Regions from separate parts of the Homo sapiens genome. Here region 1 is linked to region 2. The links are contacts of gene promoters, found by promoter capture Hi-C in blood cells and fetal thymus (Javierre and others, 2016). All regions are on one chromosome and are shown on one strand. The core of a region is centred on a gene start or on the middle of the fragment in contact, and the rest is flanking DNA. Distances in the headings are between cores, read along the strand shown.

Region 1 (5,892 bases), core at 472-2,971, about 13 Mb after region 2:
AATTAGCTAATACTTGTGTCACACTTTTGAAGAAGCTTCTGTTTTGTTTCCAGGAACTGGTGGTGGTGGTGTGGTGGTGTTTTTTTTTTTTTTTTTTTTTTGGAAGGGGTTAAGGCGGCTATATTAAAAACAAAAAAACAAAAACAAACAGTTAAGCTGCATTCTTTTCCTGTGAATGGCTTATTTGTACTCCTCTGTTAATATTCTCGAAACCCCATTTAGCTTATGATGTCTTCAAATAATTTAATAATCTGTCTTTAAAGTTTTGCACTAAATTAGAGACTTAATTTTTGTAAAACGCCTTGGAACCATAAACCTTTAACGAGATGAGAAAGGTCTCCTTCCTCTGGACTTGACTTTACTGTATAGGTGTGTGAGCGATTTTTACTGTCAAACATTGCCAAGGCAGATTGTTGTTGTTCAGTCTGCAAATGTCTCGACTATACCTGCACAGTTCCTCTCTTCCCAAGACAAATCTATCCACCCCTTTCCCCCCTGCAAGTTTTAAACTTTGTTTCCTTGGGGGCTCTGTAACAAGCAATGCTAACAACGTCCAAGAGACAAAGAGCTGTTCTGTGGGCTAACACGATGCCAAATTTTAGTTGTGAAACAAAGCACTCAAATTTGAGATTGAGGAGGAGGAGCAGAATGACAATAGTAAAGCCTCCAGCTTGGAGCCACCCCCCAGAAAGCCCCTTCCCCGGAGCCCCGCGCGGGGAGTTCCAGCCCCGGGACGGTGACTCCGGGGTGCAGCCGCCAAGCCCCCGTGTGCCCTCGCTCACCGCTTCACGCGGATGATCTGGTCCCGCATGGGCTTGATGTCCTGGAAGCTCTGCTGGTTGACGAGGCTGTAGACGAGGATGAAGCCCTGGCCGTTCTTGATGTACAGGTCCCGCATGGACGCGAACTGCTCGGTGCCCGCCGTGTCCAGGATCTCCAGCACCGACGGCGACGAATCCACCTCGATCTCCTTGCGGTAGAAGTCCTCGATGGTGGGGTCGTATTTCTCGATGAAGGTGCCGGTCACGAACTGCACGGTCAGGGCGGATTTGCCTACCCCGCCCGAGCCCAGCACCACCACTTTGTACTCGCGCATCGTCCCTCCGCGGCCGCCGCCGCCGCCGCCGCCCGCGACATAGACCTACGCCGGCCGCGCTGCGCCCCCAGCCCCGGCCCCGGCGGCCCGCCCCGCCGCCTCCCGCTGCCGCCCCCACCTCACAGCCGCGGCGGCCCCCTGGGCGCCGGCGGCGGCGGCGGCAACTGAGGGAGCAGCGGCCCTGGGCATGGGCCGGGCCGAGCCGGGCGGCGATGCGGCCCCGTAGGCACCGGGTGGGACTGAGGGCGAGCAGAGAGAGAGACCGGGAGCCGCTGGTGCCGCCCGAGCCGCGGGCCCGCAGTGCCGCCCGCCCCGCCCCTCGCGCCTCCACGCCCAGATCCCCGCCCGCCGCCGCCGCCGCCGCCGCCGCTACCCCCAGCGCTCGAGCGCGCGCCCGAGCCCCAGCCGCAGCGCGGCCAGGGGCGGGGTCCGGCGGCCGGGGCGGAGCCCGCGGCGCAGCCCCGCCCCCGCCCCCTAGGCGACGGGCCGCGAGCGCTCCCGAGAGGCTTTGCGGGGCTCGGAAGCTTCTGCCCGCGCGGAGATAAACAAGCACCGCGACCGCCGAGCAGCGCCGAACCCAGCGCGCCCAGTCAGACCCCAGGGCCTGTGTACCGAGCATGCGCAGTTCCCGCCCAAGCCAGGAGCAGCGTCAACCTGAGACTCCCGAGACATTAAGAATTCGGAAGGGATGAGATGGTAGAGGGGCTAGAGCTACCTCCAAGCTTTATCCTGAGGCGGGGAGTGAAGGAGAGATGCCCAAGGCCCAAGAGGGGCCGCGAGGGCCTTTGTCCGATGCCACCCAGTCTGTCAGCACTCCTAGAGCTTTGGTTTTATCTTGTATTAGCATGTGAAGCTTTAAGGGGGGGGCACCTACAGGCTTCTGACTGAAGTTGTGTAAACGCAACAAAATGAAGCTTTGGAGCGTTAGGACATTGATGGGAGGGTGACGCCCCCCTCTAGCAGCGCGCCAGAGGGGCGAGTCAGAGGCGGCCACACACCACGGAAGTCGGGTCCAAGCCCGCTGACGTCGCCGGGGTCCCGCCCACCAACCCTCTGGACCCGCCCACATTTCTTCTAGACCCGCCCCTTTCGGTGCCGAACTGAAGTCGAGCTCTTCCCACGCCCTGTCAGCCACGGGTGAGTTGAAAACCTGGAGAGCGGAATCCCGAACGGCAGCCGGAAGGCCCTGGACTCCTCATAGCAACAGCCAGCTAGGGGCATCTAGTGGGAAGCTGGGATTCATTCTAGCCAACCACATCACGTCTCTGTACCACAAGGTACCATTCACGACCAATAAGAGAGCGCCCCCATACCACGTGCCTTTACTCCTTCAACCAATCGAGAAAAACGCTAGTCGTAGGATCCGCAAGCCCACCTCCCAGTGCCTTGCCAGGCGGGGCTCTTCGCGCACGCTCTGCCAACCAATCGTAGGTGAGCTGGCGAGTGACGGAAGCTTCGGCCAAGCCAACCAGAGCTCGCGAGCCCCTTGCCACCGAGGCCGGCGGGATGGAGACAGGGACCGGCTGCTGGGGTTTGGGAGGGGCAGAGATTGAGGAGCCAGTTGCTGTGCCCTGTTCTGGCAAAAGAACAAGATGCGTTGCAAGCCAGAATGATGAATTCCACTTTTCACGTCGCCTCCGTGGCATTCTGCCTAAATGATGGGCATGGAAATGGTGCTGAGGGATGTGGGCTGAATCGAGAACACAGGGACTTTTGTCTTCAGGGTGAGAAATGTTCCGGTCCTTAAGGAAACATCGTGCAGCAGTTGCATGGGTCTTCCAGGCGTTCCTCCCAAAACATTATTTTTTTTCTTTCACTATTGAGTTTTAAAACTTAGCGTTCTGTCGCTAGCATTGCATCTTAGTTACACATCCTCTCCCACCCATAACGTCAAATTTAGGAGACGATACATCCCCAAGCTTTCCTGCATTATTTTTTGCAGTAACTGGTTATTCAGTTTACTTTCTTTAAACTATGTCCTTCTCAAACTAGTCTCACCTGTTCGTTACTGTCGCACATTTCCTGCGAATAACACGTTTCTGTAGTTCTGTTGTTAGAGCCTGGCATACCTCTCCCCGTTCCTCTTTCCCACAAGGTCATCATGCAGAGGGGATTTTGGTCTGAGTTAAAAGCCAGGTATTCTTTCACCATCTTTTCTGTCGATAGTCAAACTACTACAAAGACTACTCAAATTTAGTAGTTTCTTATTTCCCTATAGCTTCGTTATATTAGAATGGATAACTTATATTTGCATTACCTTGCTGTAATGAACACACACCAAGTTTTCATTTAAAATTATCAAGGACAAATGTCCTCTGAATTTAAAAATGTGTATGTAGTAAAATATAACTCAGCATTTCTTGATTACATATCATTAAAATATGAATGGTACTATCTGAGCCACCAGAATCAGCAGTGAAGGTATTATATTAATAAAAAGGACTAAGAATCAGGACTGTTTTAAGGGAACTGGAACCGAAGAGGATCTACTATTTCATCCTAGGCTAGTTAACATGAAATAGTGAATTAAAATTGAAAGAGCTTACATGGATGCTTCATATCTGAGCTACTTTGGCAGGGATGTTTCAAGAGGATGTAGGTAAGTATGGTGTTCACCTAGCTTTCCAGAAGTCTCATATTTTGTGTAAAATTGGTATGCTTATTCATGGTTACTTTGGGTTAGTAGAAGCTATACTTCTTTTCCAAGGAAAGACAGACTGTCTTAAGATTCTAACTGTGCATCTTGGTGATAAGAAGTTCTTAGGGTTGTTAAATAGAGCCAGGAAGCGTGAAGCTTTCTCTCTAGATCATGACAACTCATCTAGTACCTTGCATTACAAAGGAGCTCTAAGTCCATTTACTTTGCAAGGAATGAAGTTCCAGTGATTAATGTTTTTGAGAAATTTGTATTGGGATTGTGGGGTCCAGAAGGTTGCCTTAAGTAACTGTTTTCATGACTCCTAGGTCCCTAGATGTTGAGAAGCTCTGGATTGAAGCTGTCACAAAAATAGTGAGTGGGCTCCGTAGTCACTCCATTTAGCATAATACAGAGTAGGACAGCTTTGTGACATTTCTCAGGCTATTTCCCCTGACCTCTCATCAATGCTGACGTTTTTGATAAGAAGGGGTATAGAGACTGCAGCCCTTGGGGTGGTTACAGTTCATTTATTTACAGGCCTTATATTGACAGGCCTCAGATTTCATGCTCAGTACCATAAAGGTTGATTTTTAACCACCAAGAGGCAAAAGAAACATGACAGGTCGGAGCATATTTTCTCACCTATTCTGGCTTAAATGATGGTACTTACCTGATTTGTGGTTGTAGGTGAAATGTTGGGTGAAAGATTAGCTGCTATAAAAAGGATGTCAGGACGTGTAGAGAATTTAGAGGACTTGGGTGGGAGATGGATGTCTATTTTCTAACCCCTTAGTCATGTTCATTCCGATGCCAGCATAAACTCTATTTTGAGATGATTATAGAAATAACTTATATCTTCATTTGTTTGTGGGAAATAAAAAATAAAAATGATATAAAAGAAATTTGAATTATTCCCAAGAGCTGTAAATCTGTAAGATAGTGAAAACTTAACGCAGTAACTGACACTGCAGGATCCCTTTAGTTTCCAAAGTGCATTGCCAGGAGAATAAAAAGAAAGAAAATCTTCATTTCTCCTCTCTCCACTAAATCTGAAAGGGAGTTATCTCACCTATAGCCAGATACCTTCAATTATCGCACTTGTGTTACCGTGGAAACCCAAGTCCATCCTTTCTTTCTGTAAAAGGTGTTGGAAAAGGTGGTATGAAGTGGGAAAGGTACTGTATTCTGGGACTTCCTGACACCAGCAAGAAGCAAATATGCAGATAATTTAATAGAAACAAATTAGTAGAGGATGTTTGTAATGCGAGGGGTACTTTTCGACTGTAAAACCCTGATTCCTAATGCTTCTTATTAAAGCCTGCATGCCTCTGATTAAACATAAAGGGGAAGGGCATGTCAAGTACATTTAGCACCTGTGAAACGCTGCTGGCAAGTATAAGGAGAGCAGACGATGGTTTCTTGACCTGTGAGGCTCCTAATACAGTTGAGAATCTGCAGTATATATGTGGAGTGGAAAGGAAGGGGCAAAATAAACTTTGTTCTTCCTTTAAAAAATGTGATATGTCTCAGTGCTTTTGAAAAGAAAAGGAATTAGAATGCAGAAATTAAGAGTATGGAAACAACTCAATAAAAGAAACGTATGGGTGGAGAGAGTAGATGTTTCAAAAGGCCATTTTAATCAGAAAAAAAATCTGAAAGAAAAGACGTAATGATTAAAATGTAGGCAGAAAAAAGAAAAAGCCTGAAGAATCTTAAGAGCTAGAGGATTCTGCGGAAAACAGAGCTTCAGTGTGGTTCATTTAACAAAGCAGAAGAGCAGGCACAGTGTTGCTTGCGTACCCAGCAGTTTCCCTTTATTTTTGCCAAAGAAGCTGGGATGAATCAGGATTGGACTTTAATAGCATTGCTTTCCCTCTGCCCACGGTTAGTCCAAAAGTAGGCACGTGACTCAGTTCTTGTCATTGGAATGGGGAGAAGGCTGCTAGGGCTGGAGGGATTTCTAGGATATTGACAAGAGTGAGGAAATATCCCCGTTTTCTGATGTCGCTCTCTTTGCTTCCTGCTTTACACATTGAAATATGAGAATGTGGCCTCCATTTGGGGGCTATGATGCATTATGACATTATGGTGCAATACTGTAGAAAGCCAGCAACTTCGGATGGCCAGGGAGGAGGATGGGAAGAACCTAGGTCCTGCA
Region 2 (6,691 bases), core at 1-2,500:
AGAGAAAAGCCCTCGTCCTCCGCAAACTACAACCGGCGGCGTCGCCCCTCGCAGTCGGCCCCTACTCGGTGTCCAGCTCCAAGTGAGGGCCGGAGGGGGCTGGGCGGGGGCGGCCGACCTACCCCGAGCGGAGTACTACCCGGTACTTTATGTAACACTCAGATTCGGGACTGAGTGGGGGGCGACGAAGAAGGGCCAGAGGAACGGCGTTGCCCGGGACCGAGGCACCGGGTCCGCGGGAACCCCGGCCCACAGCCGCCCTCCTCCTGCAGCCCCGTCTCGGCGCCCTATAGCCCCAGGCGCCGGCACATCCCTCCATCTCGCGCCGTAATCTGCACCCCCTCCTAGAGGACGCGGCTTGGACCCGCCGCCCCCTCCCCCGCAGCACCCGCCTCATCACTTCACTACAAAGAGCGCTTTGGTCGCGCAGCCTTGCAGCGAGACCTCTCGCGCCTCCTTCCTCCTCCGTGTCCCGGGCTTTGCACACAAGGACCTTGGCGAATCAAAGGCGCTCCAGACCTTTTGTTCCTGCCCCTGCCGAGGGCCGCCGCTGCGGAGCCGGCCGCTTCCTCCGGTCCACGGCAGGACCGGCCCGGCTCCGCGGCGCGCCCGGACCCGCCGGGAAGGAGGCGGCCGCCCCCGCCCATCCATCACCCGGCCGTACCTTGGTATTTCGCGTCGATCTCCCGCATCAGCGAGACATTTCTCTGCAAGTCGAAAGGCAGGGACTCGATGGAGTCCAGGTAGTCCTCCACATAGTTCACCAGGTGGAGCTGCTCCCCGTTGGCAGGACTCAACATGGTTCACCCCGGAGGTCCCCGGCGACTCGGCGCGGCTTTCCGCTTCCTCCACCCCCCGCCCCCCTCAAAAAATAGCACTGCAAAATGCAAAGCCCTCGCTCTCCCGGCGCCCCCCCGCCGGCTCCTGCTTCGGCCCGGCGGCTACATCTGCCGAGCCCGTCCGCCGCCTCCGGGTCCGCGGGGACCCCAGCGCCTGAGGGCGCGGGCCGCGGTGGCGGTGGCTCCCGGGCGCACGCCCCGGCCGGCGGCGCAGGCCCCCTCTCAGGCGGCGGGGCTGGCGCCGGGGGCCGCGCGTACGAGCGCGCACACACCGGCGGGAGAGGGCCCAGCGCCGCGGCCGCCGCTGCCCACTCGCCCACTGGGCTGGGTAGAAGAGAGGAGCGGAGCGGGCAGCGGGAAGGGGCGCGCTCCGCTGGCCGCCGAGCCGCACTTGTCCAACGTGGAAAACCCAAATACCAGTTTCAAACACTTGGGAAACATTCAGCCCCGCTGCGCAGCGCGCATGCGCCCCGGCCCCCTCCCCCGGCAACGGCCCCGCCCCCCGCCGCATTCACGCCCCTCACCGTCCCAGGCCCTGGGGGCTGCGGGCTCCAGGCCGGCCCTCGCGGGGGCGTGGCCTTGCCTGTCACTTTTTCCAGAGGCGAGGGTCGCGGAGGGGACAGCGTCAGGGCCGCTGGGGTGTGGACGGCGGGCGAGGCGCAAACTTTACTAGGAGTTTTTGGCACTTGGAGGCAGAGCCTGTTGGGCGGCACAGCACGCCCGCTGGGAAACGCAGGGGAGCGGCCTGCTTCGCTGAAAACCCGACCAGGACCTAACGGGCCGCGGGACAGAAACCTCCGAGACCATGGTACACAGCAACTACCGCAACTCGCTCCTCAGCCCCTGACTCTTCGTCCCCGCCCCACAGAGCAGTATAAGTAGGGCCCGAAACAGAACTGGCAACCGCAGTAGCCAATCTACTTGCCAACATCACTTTGACAGCCCAATCACGATGAAGAGGAGGCGGGGAGACCGTGAGTAATGCCCCCCGGACTCTTACTACTAGAAACCCAAGTCCTCCGGGAGGCGGAAGGAAGGGGAGGGCCGGGCACGGGCGGAAGTGGCGGCGCATGCGCACTGGCACCCTCTCGGTGTCCTTTGAGCTGCGGCCGCAGAGTGCGCGGGAGACCTACCCATTCCGCGGCCGGACCACCACTCCCAGCAGCCTAGGCGGCTCCCGCGCCTGCGCCATCCGTCACCGCCCTCCCTTTGTGTCGTCTCCCGGTACTCAGTTTGGAACGGCTTGGAGACAAAGGGGCCTGAGAGGGAAGCTGCTTCCTAGTGCCGAGCCCCAGAAGAGGTGGATAGGCCCGAGGGGCGCCTTCCCTAGGCCTTATCTCTTCCCGCCCTGTGTCATGGACACCGTTCTCGGAGGCCGCTCCCCACACTTGGAAAGGCCGCCCACAGTATGCAGACACCCGGTCGGCCGGCGTCCTGAGGCCATTCAGCTCCCCGGACCGCCCTCCCCCGCGTCGCCCCTCTACCCTCCCAAAGCTCCCGGATTTTGGGCTTTCTGAGAAGCCTGGACGCCACGCGAGCCCGTTGCCTAGGCGACCGGCCCCGCGCGCCGGCCCCCCCCCTTCCGGCCAAAGGGCCCGCCCCTCCTGGGCGTGGCCTCGTGCCTTTGTGCACTTCCCGCCTGGCTCTCTGGTTCCGGGGCGGCCTCGGCTTCGGCCTCCGCCCCGCTGCGGCCGCCGCGGGTCCCCTCCGGGGTGGCCCCGAGAGCTGTGTTCGCCACGCTTGGCTGCCTGCTTTTCTCTGATTTTCTTCCGCCTTGGACCCTGCTCTATTTGCATTGTCTTTTTTTCAGCAAGTCGGAGAACGGTGCCTTGTCAGTTTTCACCTTTCTCACTGGACTTTCTCTTTTCCGGAGAGCCGGGTTGGTGGTGCTGCCTGTGTATTCCACGAACTAAGCCCTGTCCCCAGCCCTTGCAGTGTTTCTGTATCAACTCCACGCCAGCGCGGTTCTCCATTTTTCTTAGCCTCTTAATTAGGACAGGGTCGGATTTCAGCTTTTATCCACCGGGTTTATCCTGTTGCAAAGCAGAGTACACAGTTTTAGACACAAAATAATTGCAGTTGAAATGGATACACATTCTGGTGGTAAGATTTGGAAACGTGGTATTTGATGGAACCCTGTTGTAACATCTAAAACTCTTTGGATTTTTTAAAAACGTATTCTGTGTAATCCAGTAAAAATTTGGATTCGTCCAGTATTTATAGAGTAGATTATTAACCGCAGTGGTGCTCATTCCAGGGCCCTGCCGGGTATTTTGTGCTATGGATGTGAGTACGGCAAAGAGACTGAATTAAGCTGTTTTGTATTTGGAATCGGATTGTTCACGTTGCAACGTTGCTGCAATGATAAATGGATGGATACTCTTTACACTTTGAAGTGGATTTAATCTTCACTTTTAAGCCCCTTCATCTCACCTACACAGCAGGAGAGCTTTGGCTTTGATATTTGGGGAAATGGCTGTTATTTTACTTACAGATCACGCTATTCTAGTCTTGGCCTAGTTAAAAGCAAATGAGTACTTTAGTTTCTACAAGATTTATTGGCCACTACTTGGTCTGCACAAAAGACTATAACACTTGGCCGGACGCGGTGGCTCACGCCTGTAATCCTACCACTTTGGGAGGCCGAGGCGGGCGAATTGCCTGAGATCAGGAGTTCGGGACCAGCTTGGGCAACATGGTGAAACCCTGTCTCTACTAAAAATACAAAAAATTAGCAGGGCATGGTGGCGCGTGCCTGTAGTCCCAGCTATTGGGGAGGCTGAGACAGAATCACTTGAACCTAGGAGGGGAGGTTGCAGTGAGCCGAGATTGTGCCACTGCACTCCAGCCTGGGCGACAGAGCAAGACTATCTCCGGAAAAAAAGAGAAAAAAAGACTACGACAAGATAACATTATGTGGAAACAAACATTATGTCGAATACAGAGTATAGAGGGAGTACAAAGTTGAATAAGGAAAATTACGCCTTTCCCTCAAAAAGCATATAAGTAATTTAAAAGTACAATAGTAAGAAATAGACCGGTTCTTCTATTCCTAGCATTCATTGGCTCTAGAATGAATAGTGTTTATCTGAACTCAAGAATAAAATTGGAAGTAATTTACCCTTTACAAAGATAAGATGGAGTTTAACCTAGGTTTTCTTTTTAAAAAAAAAAATCACAACACAGTACAATCTGAGTAATGATTTTGTTCCTCTAGTTATGTACTCTCTTCACATACACATAAACCAAAAAGGCATCTTAAGCATTCAACAAGGAATATTGACGAGTGTCTACCATGTGCCAACTACTGGTCCGTGCGCTGGGGATACAGTAGTGAAAAGTTTTTTGGAGCTTTACATTCCATAAAACTTTTAGCCCACCCCTTGGGATAAAAAGTCAAAAAAGATTTTATCTTTTTTGGAACAAACTTAGAAGATCAAGCAATAAAACATAATTACCTTTGATAACGAATTTTAAATGTCATTGAAGAAAGGTGCTTAATTTTGAAGATACGTTGAAGAATCTTGTCTCTTTCAGTTTTGTTTCCTGTGGCGTGTTGCAAAAATGGATGTTAAAACTTTTCCGTAGAACAGAAATTTCAAATGGATTAAAAAGAAACATTTAAAATTAAACTTTTTTCTAAAATTATATTTCCAGTCTAACTGAAAATGCTCAAACCTATGAGAGTCAGATATAAGAGATGAACATATAATTCTTTTTCTTTTTTTGAGACGGAGTCTTGCTCTTGTCACCCAGACTGGAGTGCAGTGGCGTGATCTCAGCTCACTGCAACCTCCGCCTCCCGGGTTCAAGCGATTCTCCTGCCTCAGCCTCCTGAGTAGCTGGGATTACGGGTGCCGGACGCCATGCCCAACTAATTTTTGTATTTTTAGTAGAGACGGAGTTTTGTCATGTTGGCCCAGGCTGGTCTCGAACTCCTGACCTCAGGTGATCCGCCTGTCTTGGCCTCCCAAAGTGCTGGGATTACAGGCGTGAACCACCGCGCCTGGCCAAGCATAGAATTGTTTAAGTTTCAAAGTGCTTAAAAAATAAATGCAAACTCATTCATCTTAAACTTGAAAACCCCTAAACCATATGCTACCGTAATCAACTCTACTTCTGATTTACAAGATTTTGCCTTGAAAGAAAATGTAATACTGAGAACTTGATTTTGTTATTGTTGTCATTAAGGACTGAGAAATGGCATTAGTGATATTTTGGAATCATTAACTTTAACACACTTCCTCGTTCTGACCTAGATTGGAGAGGGAGGTGACTTCAATTAAATGGATCCTCTTTTTATGTATATATGGTGTATTAGTCAGGGTTCTCTAGAGGGACAGAACTAATAGGATGGAGATATAGATATATATAATGTATATACATATATATGTTTATTAAGTACTAACTTACATAATCACAAGGTCCCACAATAGACTGTCCGCAAGCTGAGGAGCAAGGAGAGCCAGTCTGAGTCCCAAAACTGAAGAACTTGGAGTCTGATGTTCGAGGGCAGGAAGCACCCAGCACAGGAGAAAGATGTAGGCTGGGAGGTATAGTAATGAAGAGCATTAGCAGTCTATTTTACTTTACCTTAATATTCAACCTGCAGATATTCAATATGCAAAAAGATCACATTTCTAACCATCATTAGGTAATGAGCTATGTTTCTCCTTGTTTTGATGATCCGCAAAAGCCTTAAGAAAACAGAATTAGCTGCCGGGCACGGTGGCTCATGCCTGTAATCCCAGCACTTTCAGAGACCGAGGTGGGCGGATCACCTGGGGTCGGGAGTTCAAGACCAGCCTGACTAACATGGAGAAACCCCATCTGTACTAAAAATACAAAATTAGCTGGGCATGGTGGCACATGCCTGTAATCCCAGCTACTCAGGAGACAAGCAGGAGAATTGCTTGAACCCGGGAGACGTGAGAAAGAGGCAGGAGAATCGCTTGAACCCAGGAGATCACGCCATTGCACTCCAGCCTGGGCAACAAGAGTGAAACTCCATCTCAAAAAAAAAAAAAAGAAAAAAGAGAAAAGAGAATTGGCCAGGTGTGGTGGCTTAGGCCGGTATTCCCACCGCTTTGGGAGGCTGAGGTGGCTGGATCACTTGAGGTCAGGAGTTCCAGAGTCCCAGACCAGCCTGGCCAACATGATGAAACCCCATCTCTACTAAAAATACAAAAATTAGCTGAGCGTGGTGGCACGCACCTGTAATCCCAGCTACTCGGGAGGCTGAGGCAGAAGAATCACTTGAATCTGGGAGGTGGAGGTTGCAGTGAGCCGAGATCGTGCCACTGCACTCCAGCCTGGGTGATAGAGTGAGACTCTGTCTCAAAAATAAATACATAAAAATAAAAATAAAAATGCAAAAATTAGCTGGGCACGGTGGTGTGCACTTGTAATCTCAGCTACTGTGGAGGCTGAAGCAGGAGGATTGCTTGAACCAGGAGGCAGAGGCTGCAGTGAACCCAGATCAGGCCACTGCACTCCAGCCTGGGTGACAGAGCAAGACTGCCTCAAAAAAAAAAAAGAAAACATAATAGAATCACTGCCAGTGAGGGGCTAAAAACATTACATGAATTTTCTGAAGACAGAAGATACTATTGTTAATTTAAAAGTTGTGATGTTCTATGAACAATTCAAATATACCGCATGTCCAGATTCATGTGCAGATTTGATCTTCAGTGTTACTAAGCTGCTTTCAGAATCTCTGCTCCAGTTATTTCCTTGAATTCGTGTGTTCTCACAGATTGCAACTGAGCTTTTTGTTAATTTGCTTTATTTACTGGCACATCTAATATCTGAATCAGCTTTATCAGGTATTTTACTACCCAGATTTCTTCCCA

Evidence for each region. The method cuts DNA at HindIII sites, captures the fragments that hold promoters and counts their contacts. A CHiCAGO score of 5 or more calls a contact.
Region 1: a contact is called between a fragment that was not itself captured here and the fragment with the promoter of ING1 in region 2, in 1 of 17 cell types (non-activated CD4 T cells). The highest score is 7.5, in non-activated CD4 T cells.

Annotation. Positions count from the first base shown.
Region 1 is chr13:97,429,675-97,435,566 of GRCh38, reverse strand. It overlaps RAP2A (RAP2A, member of RAS oncogene family), which reads right to left and starts at 1,398. Exons shown (of 2, transcript NM_021033.7): 1 at 783-1,398. The coding sequence starts at 1,096. RefSeq lists silencers at 1,222-1,281, 1,302-1,661 and enhancers at 1,812-1,861, 1,882-2,011, 1,283-2,214, 2,162-2,301. The HindIII fragment of the contact is 198 bases long and covers 1,623-1,820 here.
Region 2 is chr13:110,708,259-110,714,949 of GRCh38, reverse strand. ING1 (inhibitor of growth family member 1) reads right to left here and starts at 1,250. Exons shown (of 2, transcript NM_198219.3): 1 at 665-1,250. The coding sequence starts at 800. It also overlaps a transcript of CARS2 not described here. RefSeq lists silencers at 1-23, 64-323, 414-703, 864-1,053, 1,064-1,413 and 2 more and enhancers at 2,084-2,133, 2,734-2,823. The HindIII fragment of the contact is 10,550 bases long and covers 1-6,691 here.